2 separate regions of the Homo sapiens genome follow, and region 1 is linked to region 2. The links are contacts of gene promoters, found by promoter capture Hi-C in blood cells and fetal thymus (Javierre and others, 2016). All regions are on one chromosome and are shown on one strand. The core of a region is centred on a gene start or on the middle of the fragment in contact, and the rest is flanking DNA. Distances in the headings are between cores, read along the strand shown. Region 1 has its middle 17 kb from the start of RUSC2. Region 2 holds the start of CCL19 (C-C motif chemokine ligand 19).

The links. Contacts are between HindIII fragments. The CHiCAGO score rates a contact against its expected background, and 5 or more counts as called.
Region 1: a contact is called between a fragment that was not itself captured here and the fragment with the promoter of CCL19 in region 2, in 3 of 17 cell types (M2 macrophages, M0 macrophages and naive B cells). The highest score is 6.6, in M2 macrophages.

The regions. Positions count from the first base shown.
Region 1 is chr9:35,470,154-35,476,134 of GRCh38, reverse strand. It overlaps the pseudogene ATP8B5P. Among named protein-coding and RNA genes, the nearest start is that of RUSC2, 17 kb to the left of the region's middle. The HindIII fragment of the contact is 1,104 bases long and covers 3,049-4,152 here.
Region 2 is chr9:34,687,136-34,692,832 of GRCh38, reverse strand. It overlaps CCL19 (C-C motif chemokine ligand 19), which reads left to right and starts at 1,557. Exons shown (of 4, transcript NM_006274.3): 1 at 1,557-1,742; 2 at 2,491-2,623; 3 at 2,810-2,903; 4 at 2,994-3,263. The coding sequence starts at 1,694. The coding sequence ends at 3,014. It also overlaps a transcript of PHF24 not described here. The HindIII fragment of the contact is 13,722 bases long and covers 1-3,537 here.

The DNA of each region.
Region 1 (5,981 bases), core at 2,351-4,850, 780 kb before region 2:
ATCCCAGGGTACAGACAGGCAAGCTAGGAAAGGAAGTAAAGTCATAAGGAATTGATAGACTGGAGAAAAAAGAAAGCCAAGGGTTTATAAATCTCCATGAGATAAAAAAGCAGGAATACTTTTAAAAATCTCAAGTACGAGCCATGTACTGAGAATATGGAGGAATAAGGTTTGTGATCAAAGATTGTGAAAAGAAAGTTTATAATTCCACATTAGTACAACTCTGGACAATTACATGGTAACATGGAAATGGGTGATACAGATTTTTTTTTTTTTTTGTCCAAGAGATCATCTGAAGGATTCTTTCAGAGACCTGAAAGAGTCTACAGTGATAGGTCGTCCATAAGGATGACAATACCACCCAAAACAATAGCAGTGGTTGGGAGGGGAGGGAGAAGTTTCAAAGCCCTCAATGAATGGGGTGTAGAAGCCAGAAGCTTCCTAGATATCAACAACAAGAAGAGTTACAGATGAGTATAGCCAGAAGTCATAAGCATCACAGGAAGAAAGATTGTGTAGGAGAGAAAAACTAATGGTTAAACATGGCACAGGATAATGAGGGCAACACCTTTGGGCTTATGGTATCCAGAGTTTATGGTATGCAGAGTATGAGAGAGATGGAAGAAAAAGGAATGTTCTCAGGGAAAATCATGTTTCAATTAATGAAGGGATTGAGGCTATAGGTAAGTTTGTTTATAAGAGAACAAAAATTCCAGTGATTTAGTGAAAAATGTGTTACGGTCAATCAGTAGTGGACAGAAGGAGAGGAAAGAAACTCCAGGAGGGATTTACTCCCTAGAAGCTATAATTTTGCCTATATTGCCAAGGTCATTAGCCAAGCCCCTGGAAGATGATTTAAGGCAAATCACTGAATTTCCTTCCCCTTCCCAATCTCTTTGGATGGACAGGGGTAAGGCAACAGTTGAGAACTGGAGTCAGATGTTTGGTACATAAGTCAAGTGGCTCAGTTTGGAATTGGGTCTAGCAAGACAGAGATAAGGTGAGGAATACCCTGAAGGCAGCAGAAGAACCCCTGTGAAGGGACACTTAAAAACAAATCCATAAACAAAAGCTGGGTCCAATACTAGAGAAAACAGTAAAAACCAACTAGAGATAAGAAGAATGAATAGGAAGATATTTTTATAATTTTATAAAGCCTGTTGAATATGTCACAAATCCTTAAGTTACAAAGGAAAATGACTGATAGATTTGATTACATGAATTAAACACTTCTACACAAAATATTATTTAACAAATTAAAAACCAAAAGACAAAATGGGAAAAATAATTATAACATATGCACCAGAAAAAGGAAGAGCTAGTATTTTTACTGTATAAAGAGCATTTTCAAATAAGAAAAAAAGGCCAAAGAATATGAATAGACAGTTCACAAAGTAAGTGTAAATGGGCAATAAAGAGATGATAAGGGGAAGAAAAATAAGCACATAAAAATGATTCAACCTAATTAGTCATCAAAAAAGGTAAATTAAATAATTAGATACCATTTTTCATCAATTAAATTTCAACAGATTAAAAATTGTTAATACCAGTTCTGACAAGCATATGGGGGAAAACAAAATGTCATATATTTTTGGTGGGATTATAAAGTTATGCGAATCTACCTGGAGGGCAATGTGGCACTATTTAATGTATTAAAACGTGGCTACCTTTTGACCAATGAATTTTACTTCTAGGACTTTATTCTAAAGAAATAATTATCAGAAAAGTAGACAAAATGTATGTTCCATAATGATTACCAAAATGTCATTTGTAATCGCAAAGGAAAATGGAATAAAAATAAGAAATTAAATAAATTAAGGTACAGTGATACAACTGAATAGTGGACACCCATTCAAAATGATGATGTAGACCTAGACCTACCGACATGGAAAGATGACGACAATAATAGTGTCAAGTGAACAAAAGGAAACTGGAAATAGCATGCATACTATGATTTTATCTCCCCCATCTTCTAGATCTAGATGTACATATGTGTGTGTGTATACACATATGAAAAGCATAGGATATACTCCCCAACTTTACACTGGCTATCTAAATGGGATGGAATAATTTTAACTTTCTTCACACATTTCTGTATTATTTAATTTTTTTTTTTACAGTGAGCATGGATTATTTTTTAAAGAGAAAAAGCCAATAAAGCTATTTTTGTTTAAAAAGAACAAACGAAGATCTTCAGAATTAAACATAGGTCATTTATATAATGCTTTCTGATATTACAGGACCAGTAAAAGCTTTAATATTTCAGTGGCTAAGGGAGTCTCGATTTGTATTAAGGATGCTTCTCTGAAGCACAGCCTCACTCAGCTCCCACATGCATTTCCCATGGAGCTGTAATCACTCACCTCAGAGACCGTCACCCTCTGTCCATCCTTGTCATAAGTATCACCTGTTGGTAAGTGAACACAGCAGAGACTTGGCAAGGGTTTTAAAGGAGGGTTTGAATTTCTTTAAATTGTTGTTAAAAAAATATACATATATATCACATAAAACTTGCCATTTTAACTATTTTAAATGTAAAATGCAATGACATTAATTATATTCACAATGTTGTGCAACAATCACCACTATATATTTCCAACATTTTTTCAGCACCCCAAACAGAAACTTCCCATTTTTTCCCATCACCAGCCCCTAGTAACCTCTAGTCTATTTTTTGTCTCTATGAATTTGCCTATTCTAGATAGTTCACATAAGTAGAATCATAAAATTTTTGTCTTTTTGTGTTTAGCTTACATCACTTAGCATAATGCTTTCAAGGTTCATCCATGTTGTAGCATGTATCAAATTTCATTACTTTTTATGGATGATTCACATTCCATTGTATGTATATGCTATACCACAGTTTCTTTATCCATTCATCTGTGGATGGACATGTGGGTTATTTCTATCTCTGGACTTATGCGAATAATGTCACAATGAACGTTGGTATACATGTATCCGAGTTCTTGTTTTCAAGTTTTGGGGGTATATACCTAGGAATCAAATTGCTGGGTCATATGGTGATTTAAAGGAGGGGCCTTAAAAGCTTATTTATTCTGATTCCTTCATCCTAGACTTGCAGTCAAGATGCCTGCCCCCCAGTCTCCTCAGGCCACCTAGCTCCCAGTTCCCAGTAAGCTCCTTTCCCTAAGCCAATGGTAAGAAGAGGTTTGCTTGGGCCTCAACTCTTCTCCCCTAAGTGAGAATAAGATGAAGCTAGAAGTTAGTCACTGGATCTGTGATAGACTTCACACCTCAGGAAGCCCTCCAATCATAAGAGTTACCCAGAAGAGATGTGGACACAGTTTTAGAATGTTTGGGATTCTTGACCAGTGGATGACAGACTGAATAGGGGTAGAAGACATGTCTGATGCCAAGCATGGAAACACTCATGGTCCTTTTCAACTTTACCCAGTATATGGTCAGGTCAGAGAATTAAGAGGCTCACCCAAATCAGCTCATCCAAAAATAAGCCTTCAGAGTTTATATAAGTGAAAATTTGTTTGACATGGTTACCAAACAAATAATAGGAAATATAGGAAATAATAGGAAATATTAGAGTGCTCTAGTCTTTTTTTTTTTTTTTTTTAGACAGGAGTTTCACTCTTGTCACCCAGGCTGGAGTGCAGTGGCATGATCTTGGCTCACTGCAACTTCCACCTCCCGGGTTTAAGAAATTCTCCCACCTCAGCCTCCCAAGTAGCTGGGATTACAGGCATGTGCCACCATGCCTGGCTAATATTTTTGTATTTTTTGTTGAGATGGGGTTTCACCATGTTGGCCAGGCTCGTCTCGAGCTTCTGACCTCAGGTGATCCGCCTGCCTCAGACTCCCAAAGTATTGAAATTACAGGCGTGAGCCAACGCACCCGGCCTAGCTTTTTTTAATTAAAAAATTTCAATTACTTATTGATATGAAATTTACTTAGTTAACATATAATTATCCATTTTAATGTGTACAATTTAGAGGCATTTAGTGCATTTACAATGTGCAACTACCACCTCTCTCAAGTTTCTAAACTTTTTCGTCACCCCAGAAAGATTATTCCATGTGTTCTAGTTTTTTAGATGTGATTACCTTCCTCTGTTAGCTAGGACACTGGGTATGACTGTTCACACACATGAGGACTTAACTCTATCACAAAAACAAGCTTATGCTTAAGGCATAAGATAAATAAGGGATTGGGCCTGGGAGACACTGATCAAACTCTGACTACCCTTTGATGGTTTCTCTCAATAATATTTATTGCTGTAAAGGGGAATCAAGAAATTAGCAGCTTCAGTAATACATTGACTGCTCCATTTAATTTATTTTTAATTTTATTATTAATTGACAAATACTAATTGTATATATTTATGGATACAATGTGATGTTTTCATATATGTATACACCATGGAATGATTATATCAAGCTAACTAACATATTTATCACCTTGCATACTTATTTTTTTGTAGTGAGAACATTTAAAACTCTTTTAGTAATTTTGAAATATGCAATACATTATTATTAACTAGGATCAACATGCTGTGCAATGGATCTTGAAGACTTATTCCTCCTGCCTAACTGAAACTTTGTACCCTTTGACCAACATCCATCTGATTTAAAGTGGGAGTGAACTGAGTACATAGACATTGGGGACTCCTTGAGGACAGAGACTAAGTCTTGCACATCTCGGTATTCTCAATGCCCAACACAATAGATTGTACCTATAAGATGCTAAATAAATGCTTTTTGGTTAGAACTGTTTGGGCTGGGTGGTCTTTGCTTAGAGAATAGAGACAGTTGTGAGAATAGGAGATAAATGTGAATTCCAGAGGCTTACAGATTTAGAGCTAGATTAGTCTTGAAAACAATTTGCAAAGTAAAAATTTCCCAGGACTTGGGGAAAGCAGGAAGACATGCATATCATAGAGCTTCCCATTAATAGAACATTTGTTGAAAATCATAATGTTCTGAGTCAGAGTCCCTGTTTTGTCAGAGAACACATATTTGACTTGGCCGAGCTCCTCAGTAAGGGTGGTAGTACGAGCCTGTGCTGGTGTGTTCCTTGGTGCATAAAACATCTTCCGATCCCAGTTGATATATAAACTGTTGCCCAATCTTATTATTTCAACACTAAGGAGAAAGCAGAAAAAGAATGGTTCTGCGTCAGAACAGGACAAGCAAATATATCATCCTGGTTTCTTTCTTAGCAGGGCTAAGCATCTGAAAATCAGAGTGTCTTCCTTGGGATTCTACCCTTCTGAAGGACCCTTCCCACCAGCCAACCCATTGTAATGCTGACTTTGGCCATTATCACCCAAGGCTTTACCACCTGGACCCAGATATACTTGATTAACTTTTTTGAGTCATACCTGGCTTTTATTCTTTTTTTTTTTTTCCATAATGTATCCAGGAAAAGTTACAATTTTGGAATTTCTGCAGTAATGCAAGGTGTGATAGAGTAACAGTTAACTTATAAAAGGCTGTGTTGGCCCAATTGGAGGATTATTGCTCCTGTCACATGGGGAAGACAGAGAACCTTGACACACTCAGAGTTTATTTCAGAAGAAGGAAAGAAGCTATGAAAATCAGGAATAGTTTATGGGCTGACCCTCTGATAAATTTCCAGGCAGAGCCAGCCTGCCTGTGGTGTGTCTCCTCCCACAACAACCTCTTCTCATTTTATATAAGTTTTCCCTATTGCCTCTGTCATACTCCTCTTCTGCTCCAAATAGCGTCCATTATAGATTCTTTATGGCTAACAAGCATGTTCATTTTAAAACAGTGAAGACTTTTAAGGGGTCTCCTTCTTATCATCATTCATACTTAATGTGTGTTAGTCTGCTTTATTATAAGAGTGATTATTAGTAATCCCTGTCTGAGACAGCTGCACTGACAGATGGGGATTTTTTCCTTTGAGGTGAGGAAGGAGGTGCTCAGGTCCTCATCATTGACTCATTACTGATAATCTCTATGCCTGGAGTTGGGACCCCTCCCAT
Region 2 (5,697 bases), core at 308-2,807:
CCTGGGTGACAGAGTGAGACTCTGTCTCAAAAAAAAAAAAAAAAAAAGGACAAAAGAAGAACAATGGCTAACAGAGCTTATTGTGCGTCAGCCTCTAAGCTAAGGGCTTTACTCAGGGTTCCTCACTTAATCCTAAGAAGTAGATCTTCTACCATTCCCATTTTACAAATAAGGACACTAAGACACAGAAACTGGAGAATTTTCACCTTGTCGCAGTTAGTAAGTGGTGGAATCTGAATCCCAAGCTAGGCGCTCTGTCTGCAGAGTCTCCCTCCTCTGCACCGTGACTACCCGTGCTGTGCCATGACCAAGTGGCAGACAGGCGGTGTGGAGTGGAGGTAAAGACTGCAAACCCTAGAGCACACCTGGGTCCAAATCATGCTCCAGTACTTACTAGCTGTGTGGCTTTGTGCTCTGAGCCTCATGTTCCTTATGTGTAAAATAAGAATAATAATGTGAAAATAAGAAAAACTACATCAATGGTATTGTTTTGGGAAAGTTAAGCAAGGTAATAGTGGTAAAGTCCTTGACATAGAGCCTAGCACATAGTAAACAATCAAAAATACCATTACTATTATTATGATTAATGAATGGAAAGAAGCTAAGTCAGAAATTTAAGAGGGAAATGTTCCCCCTCCCTCTCTCCATCCAAAAGAGGGTCTAGGGTTTGGGTGACGACGGGTGACTGGGCGTTTCACATTTAGTTTCTCTTTCAAGGCCTTCTCTTCTGACCTTTCTCATAAGGATGGGAAGTCACTTGTCCCCTCCCCCATCGGCCGATTCCTTGAAATTTTAAGATTTGTCTGAATATGAGCTGGCCAGCCCCTCTCCTTAGAAATCCCCTCTTGGTTCCCAGGACTGAGAAAAGGGGGAAAATGAAGGGGGCTATTCCAAGCCAGTCTCCCTCCAGCTGTTCCTTTGACCCAGGTGTTGGACATAGGAAAACAGTAAATAGAGGAAGGGGAGGGTTTGCTGAGCCCCAGAGGCCTGAGATGTGGGATGGGGGTCCTGGGCCTCCTCCCAAGGTACCTGGCCTTTCAGCTCTGCTTGCCCCAAGGGAAGGACTGGTTCCCACATAGTGGGCAGGCACAGTGATGACCTTGGAGGCCACCCCAGGATCTCATGGTTGTCCTGAGGGTGCCAGGGAGCCTTCTTCACCACCAGCCCAAGAAAGAAGCACCAGTGAGGACAAGGGATAAACCTAAGGAAGGGAGCACAGTTCCTCACTGTGGGCCCCACCTTTGACCATCACTTCTGAACCCCAGCTTCATGGTTGATGATGCAAATGCCATCAATGGGATGACAGGGCAATCCCTCTCTCTGGAGAAACAGTGCACAGCCCCCTTTACTGGGCCAGACTGCAGACTTAAGTTCTCAGAGCAGGAGCCAAGGAAAGCAGAAGGAAAGGGCAACCGCAGGGGGAAGAAGGGGGGCAGGGTGCGATTCTGCCAGAAAGAGGGGGGCAACAGGGGAATCACAGAATGGGACATGAAGGGGAATTTCAGGCAGAGAAAGTGAAGCTCTGGCCATAAATAGGAGTCAGCTGCAGGGCTCACATTCCCAGCCTCACATCACTCACACCTTGCATTTCACCCCTGCATCCCAGTCGCCCTGCAGCCTCACACAGATCCTGCACACACCCAGACAGCTGGCGCTCACACATTCACCGTTGGCCTGCCTCTGTTCACCCTCCATGGCCCTGCTACTGGCCCTCAGCCTGCTGGTTCTCTGGACTTCCCCAGGTAAGGCTGAAGGGAGAGTCAGGGTCAGAGGCAGTGGGGGGCTGGCAGTGGGTAATGTCTAGATCTCAGATTGCTTGGCACTGGACGTAAGGGACATGGTGAGTTCAGGCAAATGCTTAGGTCTGTATATTTCGGTGAGCCTGGCAGGTCCCTGCATGTGTGCCTGTAAGTGTGGGTGTCCCTGTGCCCCTGAATCCCAATGCGGGTGTGTCTTTTAGCACATCCTGGGGCCTATGGCTGTGACTGTCTCTGCAAGCTCTATTTCCTGCTGCCTCCGTTTCCCAGGCAGAAGGAGATTTGCTTAAGGTAGGGAGAATGGCAGACACTAAGCCAAGGCTGATATTCAAAAATTTTAGCAATTAATAAGGCTCCTAACACCAGCCTACCCTACCCCACGCCCCTCCCACACTGTGACCTGCATTAACTCTTTACTTGCTGGATTGTCCTGGGAGAGAGGTTGGGGTGATCAGGGCAGCAGGAAGTCATTTGTGGGGCTCAGGGCAGTGGTTATTTACAAAACAGTTTAGAAGTATGACAATATATTTAGCAACCAGTAGAGCCAGAGCCATATTGGTGCATAATGGCTGAATACCAGGTCTAACTCCTCCCCGACCCCACCAGACACACACACACACACACACACACACACACACACACACACACACAGGTGTCCTCAATCCGAGCTAGGGCCATGGCCATGCCACCCTCAAGGGTCCCTGTGTCCTGTCACCTTCTTTCCCCATCCCAGCCCCAACTCTGAGTGGCACCAATGATGCTGAAGACTGCTGCCTGTCTGTGACCCAGAAACCCATCCCTGGGTACATCGTGAGGAACTTCCACTACCTTCTCATCAAGGATGGCTGCAGGGTGCCTGCTGTAGTGTGAGTTGTGGGGAGGGTGTCTAGCCTCATCTCCCGTTTTAGCCCCTGTTGAGACTCCCACCTTCTTATTCCCCTTCTCCATGCCAAGCCCAACCCCTTCAAGGAAATCCCTGAAACAGGTTCCCAGACATGGTCCCCAGGCATGCTGGATTCTGGGGCTCCATTCTCTCCGGCCTCTCACCCCAGGTTCACCACACTGAGGGGCCGCCAGCTCTGTGCACCCCCAGACCAGCCCTGGGTAGAACGCATCATCCAGAGACTGCAGAGGACCTCAGCCAAGGCAAGCCTGGCCCTCCCTGGCCCTGTCTCCTCCCTCTGAGCTCCTGTCTAAGATTCCAGCCCATGATCCTTCCTCTCCTTCCTCCTCTAGATGAAGCGCCGCAGCAGTTAACCTATGACCGTGCAGAGGGAGCCCGGAGTCCGAGTCAAGCATTGTGAATTATTACCTAACCTGGGGAACCGAGGACCAGAAGGAAGGACCAGGCTTCCAGCTCCTCTGCACCAGACCTGACCAGCCAGGACAGGGCCTGGGGTGTGTGTGAGTGTGAGTGTGAGCGAGAGGGTGAGTGTGGTCAGAGTAAAGCTGCTCCACCCCCAGATTGCAATGCTACCAATAAAGCCGCCTGGTGTTTACAACTAATTGATCACAACCTGTTACAGATTTCTTTGTTCTTTCTCCACTCCTACTGCTTAACTAGCCTTAAAAAAAAAAAAAAAGGCACCTGGCACCCATAGATCTGTCTGCTGTCCGTTTGCTGTCTAGCCAGGTGGACAGGAATAGGAAGGGGGAGGTGGAATGGCAGGATCTATTTTCTCTTCTGTGGCCTAGGGGGTCTCCTTGCTCACCTCCACTTAACAACCTGATGCTCTCAGGATCAGCCTCATTGCTTTCCATAGTTCAGCGACACTAAGCTTGGGTCAGTTCCCTGAATGAGCCAGCGTCTCATGCCTCCCACTCTTTGCTCTCCAAGGCAGGTGTTCAAGCATCCAGGTGTCTAAGGAATCCAGTGTCACTGGGGGGAAGGGAGTTGTGGGGAACCAGCTCTCACGGCTGGGGGAGGTGGAGTGGGGCAAAGGGCCCAGCTCTACTGCCTGGGGGAAAATACCCATCCACCCATGCCCTTCCCTTGGTCTGGCACACTCTTCTCTCTCCTCTGCCCACCTGGCTTCCCATCTGGGTCCAGACGCCTCTTCCTCCAGGAAGCCTTCCCTGACCCCAGGCTGGGTTAGGTAGCCTCCTGCAGTGGCCCCTCACAGCATTCATCACCCTGACTTATAGTTGCTGGTTTGTCCAAATTTGTCCATGTTCTTGGACTGGGATCACATCTATTTTGGGTTCCACTGTTTTTGTGGTGTCCAGCATGCTGCTTGGCACAAGGCAGTCCCTCAATAAATATTTGTTTAGAGAATGAATAAATATGTGAGGAAAGGCTCAGCAGCCAGGGCTGAGGGTCCATCTGTTCATTCTGTCCATACAGAATCTGACCTCCAGGCCAGCCTTCCTCTCTCAGCCAAACTGAGCAAGGTCCAGCCCCATCTTTGCAATCCTGGGGCCATGCCTCTCAGGGACACCGACAGACAGACCTGGGAGTCAGAGGTCAGAGACAGGAGAGAGGCCCACGGGGTGGAAGAAGGAGTAGCCAGGGAAGCACAGGAGATTCCACATAGAGGAGCCCTACCACCACCCCTACAGTCTACATGGGCTCCAGGGCTCAAAGGCAACACTGAGACCAGAGACATCTCCCCAGATGAGACCAGAAAGGAATCTCAGCTCTGGGAGATGAGAGCCGTGTGACTCTTGGAGCATCCCACAGGGCTTCTCTGTACAGAGTGAGTGCCTCGTACTTGAGAAGTCTCCTGGGGAAGCAGGCTAGCCTCCAGACAGTGTTCTCTAAGGGCCTCTCCAGCTGGGAGTGACAAGGCTGTGCCACTGGGGTCAGATGACAGCAAGGAGGCCAGATTGAGCACCCTTGCTTGGGAAGAGAGGTGTCATTATATCGGGTATACGTCAGCCAGCAACAAAACCAGGCCTGGGCAGGCCTTGAAAAGGGAGAAATGGTGAGGGAGTTGTGAAAGCCCCTCCTCACTGAGAGCATGACATCCTCTTCCTCTCCTCTGCTCCCAGATGCAGGTGCTCAAAACCTTGGGTATCCCAGGTCTCAGAATCACCTGGAATACCAGGTGGGTGGGAGGGATAGGGATAGTTTTCAAGAAAAGCTGCAATAACCCATCCATTCATGCATCCATGCATCCATTCATTCAGCTGTTTCTGCATTCATCAGACCTCCATCCAGCCAACTGTCCACTCACGCACTTCCCACCCAGCCATTCTTTCATCCATCCACCAAGCCAGCCAGCCATGGCGTTCTAGGTCTCCCAGCTGTGGACCCCGTGCCCCGCATCCCAGCAGGCTGGTGTCTCAGAGGACAAACACACATGGGAGGGGAGCACATTGCCTGAAATCCTTCTCAGTGCCAGTGACATTTAGAGGAAGTCAGCCTGCCACAGAAGCAACAAAAGTGATCTTTCTGGACTATCGGAGGAACACACAGACGGAGCAGGGCAGGTGAGAGTGGGAACCTTGAAGAAGATGCTACCAGGATAGGGGCCCCTGGACGCTACCTCCATGACACTGCCGCCAGGAGGTACAGAGCAAATCCTGAATTCACTGCCTGGGCCAGAGTCCCATGATCCTGTCTCTGCCCCACTCATTGTGTGACTCTGGGCAAGTTCCTTTTCCACTCTGCACCCGGAGATCCAGTTTCCCCATTTGTCAGATGGGAGAGAGGAGCTTGATTTTTGAGACTCCTTCCAAACAAAGACTTGGCTCCTGAATCTTTGGTTCTCATGCTAAACCGCCAGCATTTGCATAGACACCCCACAAAGTCTTGCACATACAGAAAACTCTCCCTGGGGCCACCCTCTGAGATCAAAGGAGATGCTGAGGCTCATAAAAAGAGAAAATAATCTAGGAGCTAGTGAAGTGCCTTGGATTCAATTGACCCTGGAAGCCTGGGAAATGAAGAACTTGGAGGAAATCTGAAGGGGTGGACACCAGAGTCCCAGGGGAGCTG